Linked DNA regions of Homo sapiens: region 2 is linked to region 1. The links are contacts of gene promoters, found by promoter capture Hi-C in human tissues and cell types (Jung and others, 2019). All regions are on one chromosome and are shown on one strand. The core of a region is centred on a gene start or on the middle of the fragment in contact, and the rest is flanking DNA. Distances in the headings are between cores, read along the strand shown. Region 1 holds the start of CCL13 (C-C motif chemokine ligand 13). Region 2 has its middle 39 kb from the start of CCL1.

Region 1 (7,711 bases), core at 1,792-4,291:
GAGGGCAAAGGTCTCATGCTGTGTTTCCCTCATTCCCCATTCAACATGTCACACATCTGGCCCAGTCTTCTTAATCTGCCTCCTCTTCTCCACCCCCATGACTGCCCTTCTTCAGCCCCTATTTTCTCTTGCTTGGACTATTGCAGTAGGCTGTTTTCCGCCCTCCCTTCTCAACTCCATCTTATCCACAGCCAATAGCTAGTCTTCCTGGCATCCATTCTTCCCTCTGGATGACTCAAAAACCTTTGCACCTTCCTCCTGCCTTCAGAACTGAGTCTAAACTCCCCACCCTGATATTCTAATTCCTCTAGAACCTGCCCTCAACTTTCATTTCTACATGTCTCCAACTTTTACATTCTGGAAGCCCATATCGGACCGTTTGGGGATATTCCCCCCAGGCCCTCTCCCCACATTGCTATCTTGGACCTCCCCTAAAAGAATCTTTGCTATGACCATACTTCCCCATCCTCTAAAGTCCATTAGGCCCAAGCACCCTCTTCCCTACCAATCCTGAGGCTCACTAGGACTTGGTCATCTGGTTTCCCTCTGAGTGTCAGGTGCACATGAAGTCTGAATCACTTGCTGCTTGGAGTGGGGAGGCATAGATTGGGGTGGGAGACTAGAGGGGGAGGGATGGGTTTACTTTTGGCAGGAGTGTGGTTTTAAAGAAAGAAATGAACTGAATATGAAACGGATGAGTTGCGAGCCAGGAGCGCCCATGCTGGGGACTGGAGCCATTGTTCCAGAACAGCCTGGGCTGGTGAGGCAGGCCCTCCTTGAAACTCAGATGAGCCAGGCTAGCCCCATGGCCAGGGCCTCTGTACATCTGCCTTCCACTGGCATGCCATCCACCCACACCTCTGAGAGCCCCTACTGGTTGGCAGTTACTCCTGAAGAAAACACCACTGTGTAGGAGATTTTAAATAAAATGTATTTTCTGCAAAATGTCAGCAGTCCTACTATTGCATTCATCTTTCCACAATAACATATTTAGCAACACCTCACATTCACAAAGAGCTCTCCTTCCTACATTGCAGCATCCCTTCATGTCCATGACTCCCACAGGCATGCTCTCAACCCCTGGGAACCGAATACAAACCCACTGCCAGCAGCTCATAGTGGAAGGGAAGGGGGCTTAGAGACAGCAACCTACTTGCTCAAGGCCTTGCTTTAGAAAAGATCAGCAATACTCAAATAAACTCCAAACCAGCAACAAGTCAAATAATAGCCAATATTACTTAACACATAGTACATTTTGAATCACAAAACCGAATGCATCCTATTTGAAAATTATGGTAGAAGTATTCCAAAGCATAGAAGAGGAGGCCAGAGGAGAATGGAAAAGTCATTTCACGTACTCCAGCTTGATTTCAGTAGGGGTAGCAGAGTTCAAGTCTTCAGGGTGTGAGCTTTCCGGCCCAGGTGTTTCATATAATTCTGGACCCACTTCTCCTTTGGGTCAGCACAGATCTCCTTGCCCAGTTTGGTTCTGAAGCTGTGGAGGAAGGAGATCTGGCACAGTTAGATGGAACCCTTTGAGGGTTTACCCAGGAGATGACACACTGGGTTCTAAACCTGCCTGGTCCACCTACTACAGGTGAAGGGGCACCCCTCCAGGACAGGAAGTAGGAGGTGTGTGGACAGAAGGGGTCTCTGGAGGCAGCCACTGCTCTTGCTGCCCCTGGGAAACTGATCCTGGCATCTGCTAAAGGGTGTGGGCTGGTGCCCATCCAGGAAACAAGGTGTGGGAAATTATAGGTCCTCTTTGGACCTGTTGTGCAGCCAAAATTGGAGGATTTGCATCACACAGTCTGGCTAGATCTCATCCTAAGATCTCAAGTCAGTCTGACGTCTGTCTCCTGGGGCAGAACTTTGGATTGGGGAATGTGGGAGTGGGGAGGAGCCAGGTGAGCAGGGATTTTTCTACCCACATGACAGCCTTCTGGGGACACCTGCTGGTGGTGATCACATAGCTCTTCAGCCTCTGCAAGGAGATCTTCTTACTGCTAAATGTGAAGCAGCAAGTAGATGGGACGTTGAGTGCATCTAGAAATAGTTACAAAGAAAAAGACTTTGAGGATGTGTTAGGCTTTTCTCAGCTTGAATACAGCAGGGAGCATCTGTATGGGATGCAAAGCAAAGAGGAAGAAATAGATCTTACTCACCCCCAAGCCCAGCACTCCCACCCTAGACCCTGAGGTGAGGTGGGACCTGTGACATGTGCCTCAGGATCTCAAAGGCTCAGCTGCATGGTGGAGACATGTCACAGCCATCTAGGGGAGGCCACGGGCAAGGCCAGTGGGAAAGGTCCTGGGTGTGGTCCCAGATCTGCAGAGTTTGGGACGATCAGATGAGGTCAAAGAAAAGGCCCTAAATCTGGAGTCAGAAGCTTAGGTTTCATTCTTGCTCTGCAATAACCTGGAGGTGGATGGCTAGGGTCCCTTCTGCCTCCAACATGGGCTTCAGCTTTCTATCTTTAAAATTAGATGTTAAAGTGAACCTCTGAGGAGCCTTACTATTCTGGTGGGCTTAGAAGTGGGGCACTTGGCTGGGCCTGGTGGCTCACGCCTGTAATCCCAGCACTTTGGGAGGCCGAGACGGGAGGATCACTTGAGGTCAAGAGTTTGAGACCAGCCTGGCCAACATAGTGAAACCCCTTCTCTACTAAAAATACAAAAATTAGCTGCACGTGATGGCGGGTGCCTGTAATCACAGCTACTCAGAAGGCTGAGGCAAGAGAATCGCTTGAACCTGGGAGGTGAAGGTTGCAATGAGCCAAGATCGCACCCCTGCACTTCAGCCTGGGCAACATAATGAGACTCAATCTAAAAAAAAAGTGGAGGAGCACTCGGGCTTAGGTCTTCCTTGAATAGAGAAACAGAGGGAAAGAGAGGGAGAGTCGAAGGGAGGTGACTTACCTGGCTGAGCAAGTCCCTGGGGGTTGAAAGCTGCTGTCATGAGCAGCAGGCACAGAAGCACTGCAGAGACTTTCATGTTGAAGGTTAAGAGTTGGAGATTTCACAATGTTTCTTTGCCTCTCTGCTCCTCTGGCTGTTCCGCCGGCCTTTTATAGGGAGTGGAGAAGCTTGGAACTCTCAGAGGACCTTGGCCTGAGCAGGGCGTTGACCAAGTCATGATGAAGGGGGATCCTGAATCTGCTGAGCTGGAGCTGGGCACCAAAGACTTTTCTAGGAAATGCAAGAGGGAAGCTGAGGGCTGAAACAGCATGGCATGGCTTCCTTCTGGCTGTTCAGGCCACAAGGAGCCAGAGAGGAGAAAGGGACACAGACGCGCCCCAGCCATTCACCATGGGAAGCCATAAAGGAGCTGTTTTCTTCTTACTTTCTCCAACAGGAAAGAGAAAAACAATGAAAATTAACTCCTGTAGAGAAAGAGTGCTGTGCTAAGGACTCTGTTCACGTTATATATTTAGTTTGAGGAGGTACATACCATTATTATCATGCCCATTTCATAGAAGAGGAAACGGATGCAGAGAGATTAAATAACTTGACCAAAATCTTATGGGAAATGAGAGGGAAAGCTAGAAGAGAAAGCTGGTCTGCTTATATTTTATCACCAAGGCAGTTTCAACTTTTGTTTAGCAGCAGAAGTCTTTTTCCAAGTCAACTTTTATGTGGAAGTCTAATATCTGAAACAGATTAAGTCAGATTTCTGATGACAGGGGCTCCTTACATTACATATTGTGTCCCCTTCTGCCCCTCAGGCCCAGAGGGACATGGTTCAAACACCTCTGATTGATGCAGGCCCCGTGTTTCCAGGAAGGACCATTGGGTTTCTAGAGCTGTTGATGGGAGGGCTGGGGTGGCCCTCAGAGCAAAGAAGTGAGGTGTTTGGCCCATTCCTGGGCTCCTCCTGCGAGGGGCACATATCTGGGAGCTGGGAGGTGGGGAGGGAATGGCTTAAAATGGTTGAACATGTCCCTTTCCCACTCATCCCTAGCTCCAAGACTTGGCACAGTTTTTGTGCCTTCCTGGAATACTCATCCCTCTGCATTCCACTATAGCAAAATAAGCCCAGTGAAAGTAAAGGGAAGAAATAAAGAGCTAGGATTAGAGAAATAGGAAACAGTAAATATTAGAAAGGATAGATGAAGCCCAAAGCTGGTTCTGTAGCCTATAATTAAGCTAAAACTCTCCTGAACTGAAAATGAAAAAAAAAAGAAAAAAGGGGCTGAGGCGGGGGGATCACTTGAGGTCAAGAGTTCTAGAGCAGCCTGGACAACATGGTAAAACCCTGTCTTTACTAAAAAAAATACAAAAATTACCCAGGCATGGTGGCACATGCCTGTAATCCCAGCTACTTGGGAGGCTGAGGCAGGAGAATTGCTTGAACCTGGGAGGCCGAGGTTACAGTGAGCCAAGATTGCACCACTGCACCCCAGTCTGAGTGACAGAGTAGGACTCTGTCCCAGAAAAAAAAAAAAAGAAAAGAAAAAAGGAAAAAGGTACATATAACCAGTTGCAGAGCCTGCAGACACCAAAAAGAAAATGATAAGAACCTTATGCCAAAAATTTAGTTTAGAGGAAATGGATGAATTTCTTAAAAATCTAACTGACCAGGGTGCACAAATAAATAAAAAATAGAAAGTCATTCTAAAGCTATTAAAGAAATGGAATCAGGAATTGAAAATCTTCCCACAAAACATTCTCTGGGCTCAAAGGGCACAAACAGCTAATTCCTCCAAGCACTGAAGGAAGTGGTCATTTCAATCTTGTGCAATCTCTTCCAGAGAATATCAAAAGATTGTACACCACTCAATTCATTTTGAGACCTACCTAACTTTGACACAAAAATGTGTCAAGACTCACCTGAGAAAAGGATATTATAAGCTTGTCCCTTCAGACACACATTCCATTCTTTTCCATTCTATTCTCTGCCCTAGGAAGCCAATCTTGGTGGGTTACATCAGTGAGGTTGCTGACCTTCTAGCTTCTGACTGGGTTTAGGCACAAGGGAGCTTCTGAGGACATTAGAGCAGGGAGAAGAGTTAAGTTGAGGTTCTTCTCCTCTGTTGTCTCCCTGTGTTCCTCAACCTGGATACATCCCTCAACTAATGGTTTTAACTTCTTTCAAGGTGGTTTCTCCATGACTCTCCTATCCAGGTTTGCTGAGCTATCCCCTGTTTTTCCTTTTTAGATTTAGGAATATAACCATGTTCTTTTTAAAAAATTTTTATTTTATTTTAAATTTTGGGATACATGCGCAGGATGTGCAGGTCTGTTACATAGGTAAACATGTGCCATGGTGGTTTGCTGCACCTATCAACCCCTCACCCAAGTATTAAGCTCCATCCACATTAGCTATTTATCCTGACGCTCTCCCTTTCCCTCACTCCCTGAGAGGCCGCAGTGGAATAGCCAAGACAATCTTAAACAAAAAGAACACAGCTGGAGGTATCATGCTACCTGACTTCAAACTATACTACAAGGCTACAGTAACCAAAACAGTATGGTACTGGTACAAAAACAGACACACAGACCAATGGAACAGAATAGAGATCTCAGAAATAAGACTACACATCTACAACCATCTGATCTTTGACAAACCTGACAAAAATAAGCAATGGAGAAAGGATTCCCTATTTAATAAGTGGTGCTGGGAAAACTGGCTAGCCGTATGCAGAACACTGAAACTGGACCCCTTCCTTACACCTCATACAAAAATGAAATCAAGATGGATTAAAGACTTAAATGTAAAACCCAAAACTATAAAAACCCTAGAAGAAACTCTAGGCAATACCATTCAAAACATAGGCACAGGAAAAGATTTCATGATGAAAATGTCAAAAGCAATTGCAACAAAAGCAAAAATTGGCAAATGGGATATAATTAAACTAAAGAGCTTCTGTACAGCAAAAGAAACTATCATCAGAGTGAACAGATATCCTACAGAACTGGAGAAATTTTTTGCAGTCTAACCATGTTCTTAATAGCCTCATGGTACCAAACACCCCTGTGGTCTCTTTTCACCCACTTACATCTTTGTAAATAGCTTCTTTACTAAACCTTTCTCCAAGTCTTCCATTTTAAGTGTTATCTATTTCTTGCTGGGACACTTACTGACATTGAATTGGCCCCATAAAATAGAACTTCCAAATGGGATTCTGGGATTGGATTGCTCGTATGTTTTAGGTGCACCATGGAAAGGGGCACAGGAATAGGATCTGTCAACATATCATGATTACTTTAATTACCACCAGTAGTAGCATGGCAGACTGCTTTAACAAGCCCATTAGGTGATCCTGAAATACACAAAAGTTTGAGAACTATGGGATTATATCATGTCCCACTGTCATCACTGATCTATAAAGAATAGCCACTACAGAGCTCTTAAGCATCCTGCCCTCCTCCCACAACTCATCAAAACATTTCCTAATACCTGGATTGAAGGGAGTGTCCCCCTGGGCCTCCCAGCAGCTTGCACATAGACTAGATCCATTCCAACAGATCCAACAGATAGACTAGATCCATTCCAACAGATCCACTTCCCTGAGTCTCTGGACTCCTTCCTGTCATTCCAGAGAATTTCTGGCATTTCAACTTCATTAACTGTAGGCTTCTTATTTTTTAATTTTTAATTTTTGTGAGTACATAATAGGTGTGTATTTTTATGGGTTACATGAGATATTTTGATGCAGTCATGTAATGTGTAATAACTACATCAAAGTAAATGGGATATCCATTGCTTCAAGCGTTTATTTTCAGGTTGTTTATTTGAAGGTTTGCTTCTTTTTTGATGTAGGCACTTAGAGCTATATAAATTAACCTCTTAGAACTGCTTTTGCTGTAACCCATAGCTTTTGGTATATTGTGTTTCCATCATAATTTGTTTCAAGAAATTTTTCAGTTTCCCTTTTAATCTCTTCATTGACCAACCAGTTGTTCAGGAGCATATTGTTTACATTCCATGTGTTTGTGGAGTTTCCAAAATTCCTCTTGTTATTGACTTCTAGTTTTATTCCATTGTGTTCAGAGAATATACTTGATACTATTTCAATTTTTTGAATGTTTTAAGACTTGTTTTGTGGCTTAACATCTGATATATCCTTGAGAATGATCTATGTGCTGAGGAGAAAAATGTGTATTTTGCAGCTGTTGGATTAAATGTTTTGTAAATATCTAGTAGATCCAATTGGTCTATAGTGCAGATTAAGTCTGATGTTCCTATGTTGATTTTCTGTCTGGATGATCTGTTTCAGGGTCTGAAAGTGGGGTGTTAAATTATCCAGCTGTTATCCTGTTGGAGTCTATCTCTCTCTTTAGCTCTAATGATATTGGCTTTATATATCTGGGTGCTCTAGTGTTGGGTGCCTATATATTTATAATTGTTATATCTTCTTGTTAAATTGACCCCTTTATCACTATATAATAACTCCCTCTGTCTCTTTTTTTATGGTTTTTGTCTTGAAATTTATTTTGTCTGATATTAGTATAGCCACTCCTGCTCTTTTTTGGTTTTCATTTGCTTGGAGTATCTCTTTGCATCCCTTTTGTTTTCAGTCTTTGTGTGCCTTTATAGGTGAAGTGTGTTTCTTGTAGGCAACGGATCATCAGGTCTTGCTCCTTCATCCTTTTAGCCACGTTTTACGTCTTTTGATTGGAGACTTTAGTCTGTTTACATTTAATGTTATTATTAATAAGTAAGGACTTACTCCTGCCATTTTGTTATTTGTTTTCTGGTTGTTTTGTGG
Region 2 (7,711 bases), core at 2,315-4,814, 46 kb before region 1:
TTCTCCTGCCTCAGCCTCCTGAGTAGCTAGGATTACAGGCACGCACCATTTTTAGTAGAGATGGGGTTTCACCATGTTGGCCAGGCTGGTCTCAAACTCCTGACCTCCGTTGATCCACCCACTTCAGCCTCCCAAAATGCTGGGATTACACGTGTGAGCCACCGTGCCAGACCTATGTCCTTGGTTTCTAAGAGATGTTCTCAGGTATCATTTTCCCTGCATGTGTAAGCTGGCTTGAACAGGGTTCCTGCTCCATGTACCAAAAGAGTCCTGGCTAATTCACAGCCTTACTTGGCTCCCTCCTCTCCAGGCACAGGCTCCCAGGATCACCACCCACACATTCATCCTTCCAGGAGCATAGGAAGGAGATAGTGACAATAGTCACGCCATCCATGCTTTGATGACATTGATGCTTCCTGGTCTGGGTGTGATACAGGTCTGTCATAAGACACTCTACTTTCTTTTCGGCAACATACCTTCCTGGAATCTTTTTTTTTTTTTTTTTTTGAGAGGGAATCTCTCTCTGCCGTCCGGGCTGGAGTTCAGTGGCCTGATCTCAGCTCACTGCAAACTTTGCCTCCTGGGTTCAAGTGATCCTTCTGCCTTAGCCTCCCGAGTAGCTGCGATTACAGGCATGAGCCACCACACCCTGCTAATTTTTATATTTTTAGTAGAGAAGAGGTTTTGCCACATTGGCCAGGCCGGTTTCAAACTCCTGACCTCAGGTGATCTGCCTGCCTCGGCCTCCTAAAGCGCTGGGATTACAGGCGTGAGCTATGCCTGGCCACCCTCCTGAATCTTAAAGTCAAATTAGACTGTGTAGCCCAGTAGCCATGAGGATAGGCATAAAGTGCAGCAGCAAGATCAAGACGGCCCATCCTTTGGAAAGTTACGGAATAAATAATAAACTGTAAAAGATATTAATAACATTTTTAAAAATTGATAAGCCATGCCTAAATAATAAGTGTTGTCAAAGTAGTCAGCACTAAATATTTGAGAGGTGTAGGCTGAACATCTCACACTGGGGGTGCTGTGAGGTCTGAGCATTGTGAGACAAGTAGAACTTAGTCACTGTCTCTTGGGTCAGGCTGGTGGAAGATACATGCTCATGAATAAACAGAGAGGGTAAAATGCCAAGGACAGTGAACAAGTTACTAAGGATTGCAGAGACGGGGACTCAGCTCTAATTGGAGATGTTGGTGGAGGCTAGCTTGGAGGAGAAGCCATTTGCCCCGAGTCACCCTGAATGAGTTCCTGGGCAGATCGGACAGCAGGAAGACCATGTGGAAGGGCCATGCATGGCCTGCCAAGGGAACTTAATCAGCTGGGTTACTGGAGATGGAGGCCTAGAAATGAGGCTGGCAGGGTGGCAAAGGCTGCATTCTCATGACCTCAGGGGCTCTGATCTGGGACTCTTGGTGGTGAGAGAAAAGCAGGAGGGTTTTAAGATGGGAAGTTGTCTTGGAGGTTGTGCAGTTATTATTGCTATTCATTAATTACTTCTGTCTCTCTTTTTTTCTGGGCCCTTGGTGGGACTACAATTCCCGGCTCCCCGTGGTTGGACAGGACCCCATGGATGGAGCTGAACAGTGAAATATGAGTGGAAGTGATGTGTTATTTCTGGGCGAAGCATCTATTGCTGGTATAAGACCCTATACAGCTCTCGTTCACTCTATTACAACTACCAGCATTCAAGATAGGACAGTTGATACAGCAGACCTGACCTCTATTCTCCAAGTGGGGGTTGGGGTGGGATGATGGCAGAGAGGCTTATGTGCTGGGCCTGCCATCCGTGCCCATGGAGGCCATGGAGGCATGGAGGTGTGGGGGCCTCAGAGGGGCTTCCCAGGAACTGGCCCCAATCTCACCCACATCTCATTGCCCATTGGACCAATACCCTTGACTGTCCCCCCTCCCAACCACCCAGTTACTTCTTGGAGAAGTGGGAAATTCTGGATATGGTCATAAAACGTGAAAAGTGAAGGCCCAGAGAAATGACACACATAAAAACGACCTTGGCTCGAAAACAAACACATGAACTTTAAAAATGCAAATCTGCCTCCAGCTAAATAAATAGAACCAGTCCAAGAAATAGCACACATGAACTTGGAAAAGTGTGACTGAAGAAAAAGGCCCAGAGAAAACAAAATATAATAGTGAGACAGAAAAATATAGCAAAAGGTAAAAGGAATGCAGACTTCAGAGTCCCATACCTTCCTTCAGATCCCACTTTTGTTATTTACAATACAGCCTCCCAGCACTCATCCATCCATTCACCCATCCTTTCCTTCAGTAAATGTGGAATGCTTACCGTGTGCCAAGCACTGTGCTAGGTCCTGGGGCTCCATGCATCTGAACCATTTCTATGCCAACTCTATCTGCATGGAACTTACAGTCCCATGGGACACACAGACAAGAAAGTGGGACAAGCAACTTGACTGGCCAGATTATTGTGCATGTCAGGGTTAAGGTATAAGCTACCTTGCAGTGAGCACAGCAGCCTGGAGATGCTAAACAGATGATGATTAAGATTATTAAAATACCAGAGGCAAGTAATAGACCACAGGGTAGGTAAGAAACAAATCTTCTCTTGAATAATTATTGGAGAGACATGCATTATTTATTTAAAATCTACAATGAGGCAATTTGTAACTATTCAAAGTTACAATGGAAACTAAAAGGAAATTATTGCTCCAGACTCTTAAATCCAAACACCTTCTCCTAAGCCGACGCATGCATGGGAGTCTAAAAGTTCTATTATAGATTACATGGTTCCTATAACATAGGGCAGGCAGAGAAAGGTTGGGAAGGAGAAAGAGTGAGCTCATCAGTTTGCTTACTTGGGAATTGGGTCTCTGATCTTTTGGCCCGGCACACCTGGGCTACCTGGCTATGCCCAGAGCTTGTCTCCCCTACTCCTAGATATAGTAAGGCACGTTTTGGAGATTCTTATAGTCATTGTACCCAGGATTTACAACACATATTCCAGAGAGCTAGAACTGCTGTGTGCCTCTTTATGTTTTATTTTTAGGAGAGGAAGCAGTGTAGAAAGGACACTGGTTTCATAAGCATTTGGAGTCAAACTCAGCTTTGTGACATTGGGAAGTTACTTAATTTCTCTACACCTCAGTTTTCTTAACTCTAAAATAAGCCTGATAATGAGGGCTACTGTGAAGATATATACAGTATATCCTATATATACACACATATACGCACGTAGACACCTGCATATGTATATGAATACATATATGAATATAAACATGCACATGAACATTCACATACATATTCATATATAGAAAATAAATATGTGCATATATATACACATAAACACGTATATGTGTGTACATGCTTGTGTGTGTGTGTGTGTATATATATATATATATATTTATGCATTCATTTATGTAAGTACACATACACATGGCCTAGCACAGGGCCTGATACCTGGTCAGAATTTGGAAAGTCTTAGTACCCTTTCTGCAACTGTGTGGCCTTCTTTAGTATTGAGTTATGGTAGCCTCTAAGGCTCCATGTGATCTGAAGAATTATTGCCGTGGGGTCTCTAGATGATGCCCCCCCACCATCCTTTTACAGCTGCTAAGCACCAATATTAGAGTTCAGGTGCCAAATTGTTTCTCTAAATGCCATTTAACCTGGTACCAAGACAGAAGAGTGGCATCAGACAGCTGACAAAAGATGTTATTCTAGGCTCGAGAGAAGATCACCTGCTGGTCGAAGTCAACCTAGAACCATCCCGGCCTCAGGCCAGGCCTGAGCAGGTTTGTCCTGGTCTCTAATCAGGTGCTGAGAGCCCAAAGGCCACAGTACAATGTTAGCATTCTTGGCCACCTTGTCCCTTGGTTTTTCAAAATGTCTAGACTTTGTTTTCTCCAATTAATGTAAATCCATCCATATGAAATCAAATTCCCTGTTGCTGCCACTTTTTATCTACCAAAAAGATGGCCAAGGAATAGCTTCAGTTTAAGGAGGCTTCTGGGCTGCTTATCAAAGGCAAATTCACTGAGCAGGGCTTCCCAAACCCAGCTAAGCAGTGGGGCCTCCTGGGATATATGTTATAATGCTGACTCCCAGGTCATGCCCAGGCCTACTGCATGGGGATTTAGAGAATAGAGTGTGATGGGGCTATGGAAGCTGTGATTTTACCAGCACTGCCAGTGCTTCTGATGGATGGCTCACTGGATACCTCTGCTCAGCAAGGGGCAGCTCTCTGGGGGTGTCCTGATGAAACAGGCTGGGCTGCCAGCCTGACTTTCACGGTACTCTTCCCCTTCACTTTCTCCACCCTTTGGGACCTCTCCCTCCAGGGTTTGATCCCAACTTCCTCCTACACTCTCCTGACAAGAAAGAAGGGAGAGGAAAAAGAGCTAAGCTTTACTGAGTGCCCAGTGGGTGCCAGGTCCTGGGCTAAGGCTCTCACTTGTGCTGTCAGATGTAACCCTCAGCATACAGCAATGCCTGGTGATGCTTTGAGATGCATAAATGGAGGGCATGAGAAAGCCAAATAACTGGGCTTCCTAGGCACACATGAATCTACACTTTATGACTCCAAAAGACAGGCTCCTTTCACTAGACACCAGGAGTGAGAGAACAGACTTGAATTTCAGACTGGGCCCTCTGACTGCCTGGGGAGAAGGGGTTGGGACCTGAAACAGGGAGACTCAGTAATAGGATTTTGGGTTAAGTCAGGTGGAAGATGATCTACTTGTCACATTGTGCTCTCATAATTATCCTCTACTGAGGTAGGAACCATTATTTGCCCCATGTTATAGAAGAGAAACCTGAGGTTTCCAGAGGTTGAGTGCTTTACCAAAGGGCGTAAAGCTGGCACATGCTTGTTCAGGCATGCCTACTCCTGAGCTTGTGATCTCAATCTCTCCTGACCAAGAGGGTGGCCTCCAGGGTGGGGGAAAGACAGGGGTTTAACGACATTTGAGACTTAACGTGTACAGACTTGCCAGGCTTTGGTGACAGGGAGGATGGGGCGGAGTGGGGGACAGGGAGGAGTCAAGGCTGGCAGCTATGTCCTGGTTGGATAACCAATGGACCATGAGAGAAAAGAGAATGTTGCGGAGATGATGAATTCAGATTGTGGCACATCGATTTTGAAATACCTGTGGTACTACCAAATTTGTGTGGATTCACAGGATAATCATAATCCATCCATCCATTTAACAAATGTTTATTCAATGCTTAATGTGACCATGTTATGTGCCAGGTCCTGGCACAGGCAAGAGCCTGCTCCTGCAGAAGAGGACCCGCTTTGCCATGTTTATTTCTCATATCTTCTCTGGCACGATCATGTTCCTTTATTCAAAATTTCCACTCACATCAGTCATCCGTTATCGATCACAGACGACGGAGTTTGTGGCCACAGTGACATCTCCCCCACAGATGTGTGATGGCCAGCATGTGGAAGGGGACCTTTGTGCTAGCTCAGGCTCTCCGTGTTGCAGGGGAGCAGTCAGAGGAAACTTGGAAATTCTTGTCTCTTTGCCCATCTTTCCCTAGGTGTCTCCCCATGACAAGGCCGGTGCCAGCCCCTGGGATACAAAGATGAGAAAGTGCAGGGTTCGACTGGGGGAGGGCAGAGGAAGAAGCTGCTGTTCTGGTAAGAGTGGGCTGCTTTGCAAAGAGACAGTTAGGAGGTGTTGAGGCCAATTGAGAAAAGCTCCAAACTCACTGACTTTGTATCTGATTGTGCCTGACACTGGTGCCTATCAGAGTGTGGTGAGGTGGAAGCCACACCCACGAGCTGTGTGATGCCTGGCAAGTCACTTCACATCTCCGAGCCTCACTTCCTCATCTGCAAATGGGGATAATGCTAAGTACTTTGAAGGGTTAATATGGAAATTCCTATAGGAAACTTGCTGTAAAGTTCTAGGCACATCGTAGGTCCTCTCTCCCATCAATCCTTTCTGGGTCTTTGATTGGAAACAGCTTCCCATTCCAGTGATGCTTATGAATCGCTTGTCCTTCTGCAAGCTTCTATGGGTGTGGATTTGTGTGTAGGTGACTTTGTGTATTTTTATATAGTTAGAATACATCAATATAAGACCATATATGTTTCAGATTAACTTCCTGCAAAAGAAAAATAAATTAGATTTGCATTGGTGTGAGTTTTTTAAAACATAAATGTACAACATAGTTCTATTCCTCAATATTTTGCATTTCTTTTGAAAGGACTATAACTTCAAGGAAAGTCTCAAAAAAGTTACCCCCATTCCCTGCATGTTAGCACACTTCCCTTGTAATTTTCTCTCTGTGTCTACACAGATAGCTGTATTTTTCCAGAACTGAATCATAGTCTACCCACTGTTTTGTGCTGTGTTTTTTGCATTTAACTGTTTCACAAGTATGTGTGTGAGTGTGTTTAATGCCTTATGTGTACAGATAAGTTTTGAGAGTTTCATAATATTCCGTTGCATTGGTGTTTAATTAGTTAAGGAAGCATTCCCTAATGTTTAATATTTTAGCCTTTGCTTTTGATTCCTTCTGGATAAGTTTAGATCTTGGAACAGAATCCTTTCTCTGGTAATACCTGTGTCCTTTCTGGGTGCTTAGAGAAATCTCTTTTCCAAAGCAGGACATACTCTCTCATTTTGAGCTCTCTGTTAAAAATTAGGATTTGATCTCAGAACTCACCCTGTTTCTTCCTTTCTAGACCATGTAGGTGGACTCTATTTAAGAAGCAAATGTGTAACAATTCCAATTGGTTGCTACTTAAACAAGAAGAGAGGAGATTTATTACATTTTACCAGAAAGGCTGAATGTTAAAGGCACAGGTACACAGCTGGAAATAATTAAAATAACAACCAATGTTTACTGAGTACCACATAACTATCAGGAGCTATTCTAAATTCATTGCATCCTCACAACAATCCAATGAGTTAGGTACAATTTTTAGCCCTGTTTTGCAGAAGAGGAAGTTGAGGTCAGAGAAGTTAAATGATTTGGTCAAGTTCATGCAGTTAGGAAGTGACTTAAATCTAGATGGTCTGACTCCAGAGCTTAGGTCTAGGTTAAAATCTGTCATGCTATTTGTAAATTGGGTCTCCTTTAAGAAGCCATGTGACTGCTCCGAGCCTCAGCTTCTGACTTGTGACGTGGTAGTGACAAGTCCTATCTCAAAGGACAGAGGTGAGATTAAGCAAGATGGTGTACAGAGAAGCCCACATGGTACTTGCCATGAGGTATTTGCTCAGGAACAGTTCCAGTCCCCTTTTCTCCCATTGTCACAGGGTTGGGATCCTGGTCCCCAACCCAGCCTGGCCTCTGGGCCCAGAAACATAACTATTTTCTATTGAAATGTTTGTGCTCCTCAATTGTCCTGTTGTTTTGACTTGTGAGCTCATTTTTCCCTGAGAGTATTGGTTACTCCTTTTGGCAGTGTTGGTGGTGAGATGCCAGATTCTATCTACTTCAATTCCAGTGAACTCAGGAAGTAGGGAGAGGTGAGCCTTAAGGTGCGGAACCCCTGGCATGAGAAAACACTTACCAAGACACCTCTCAGCTCAATCTTAACCCTTTGCCACCCATAGAGAGGATCCACTCTTTAGACAGTAATTTTACAGCCCCAGAAGTTCAGATAGGACGGGAGAGGAAGTAACGGCCCAAGTCAGTCACTCTGCCTGCTTTGCTCAGCCTCCCTTTAGCACAGGACTTCTGTACAGCTCTGATTTTACTCCTGACAATA

The links. Contacts are between HindIII fragments. The study calls those that stand out against the background at their distance.
Region 2: a fragment that was not itself captured here is called in contact with the fragment with the promoter of CCL13 in region 1 in 1 of the 25 tissues and cell types used here (spleen).

What each region holds. Positions count from the first base shown.
Region 1 is chr17:34,351,810-34,359,520 of GRCh38, reverse strand. It overlaps CCL13 (C-C motif chemokine ligand 13), which reads right to left and starts at 3,041. Exons shown (of 3, transcript NM_005408.3): 1 at 2,919-3,041; 2 at 1,932-2,046; 3 at 911-1,495. The coding sequence starts at 2,994. The coding sequence ends at 1,390. The HindIII fragment of the contact is 2,821 bases long and covers 1,148-3,968 here.
Region 2 is chr17:34,398,549-34,406,259 of GRCh38, reverse strand. No RefSeq gene overlaps it. Among named protein-coding and RNA genes, the nearest start is that of CCL1, 39 kb to the right of the region's middle. The HindIII fragment of the contact is 3,260 bases long and covers 1,935-5,194 here.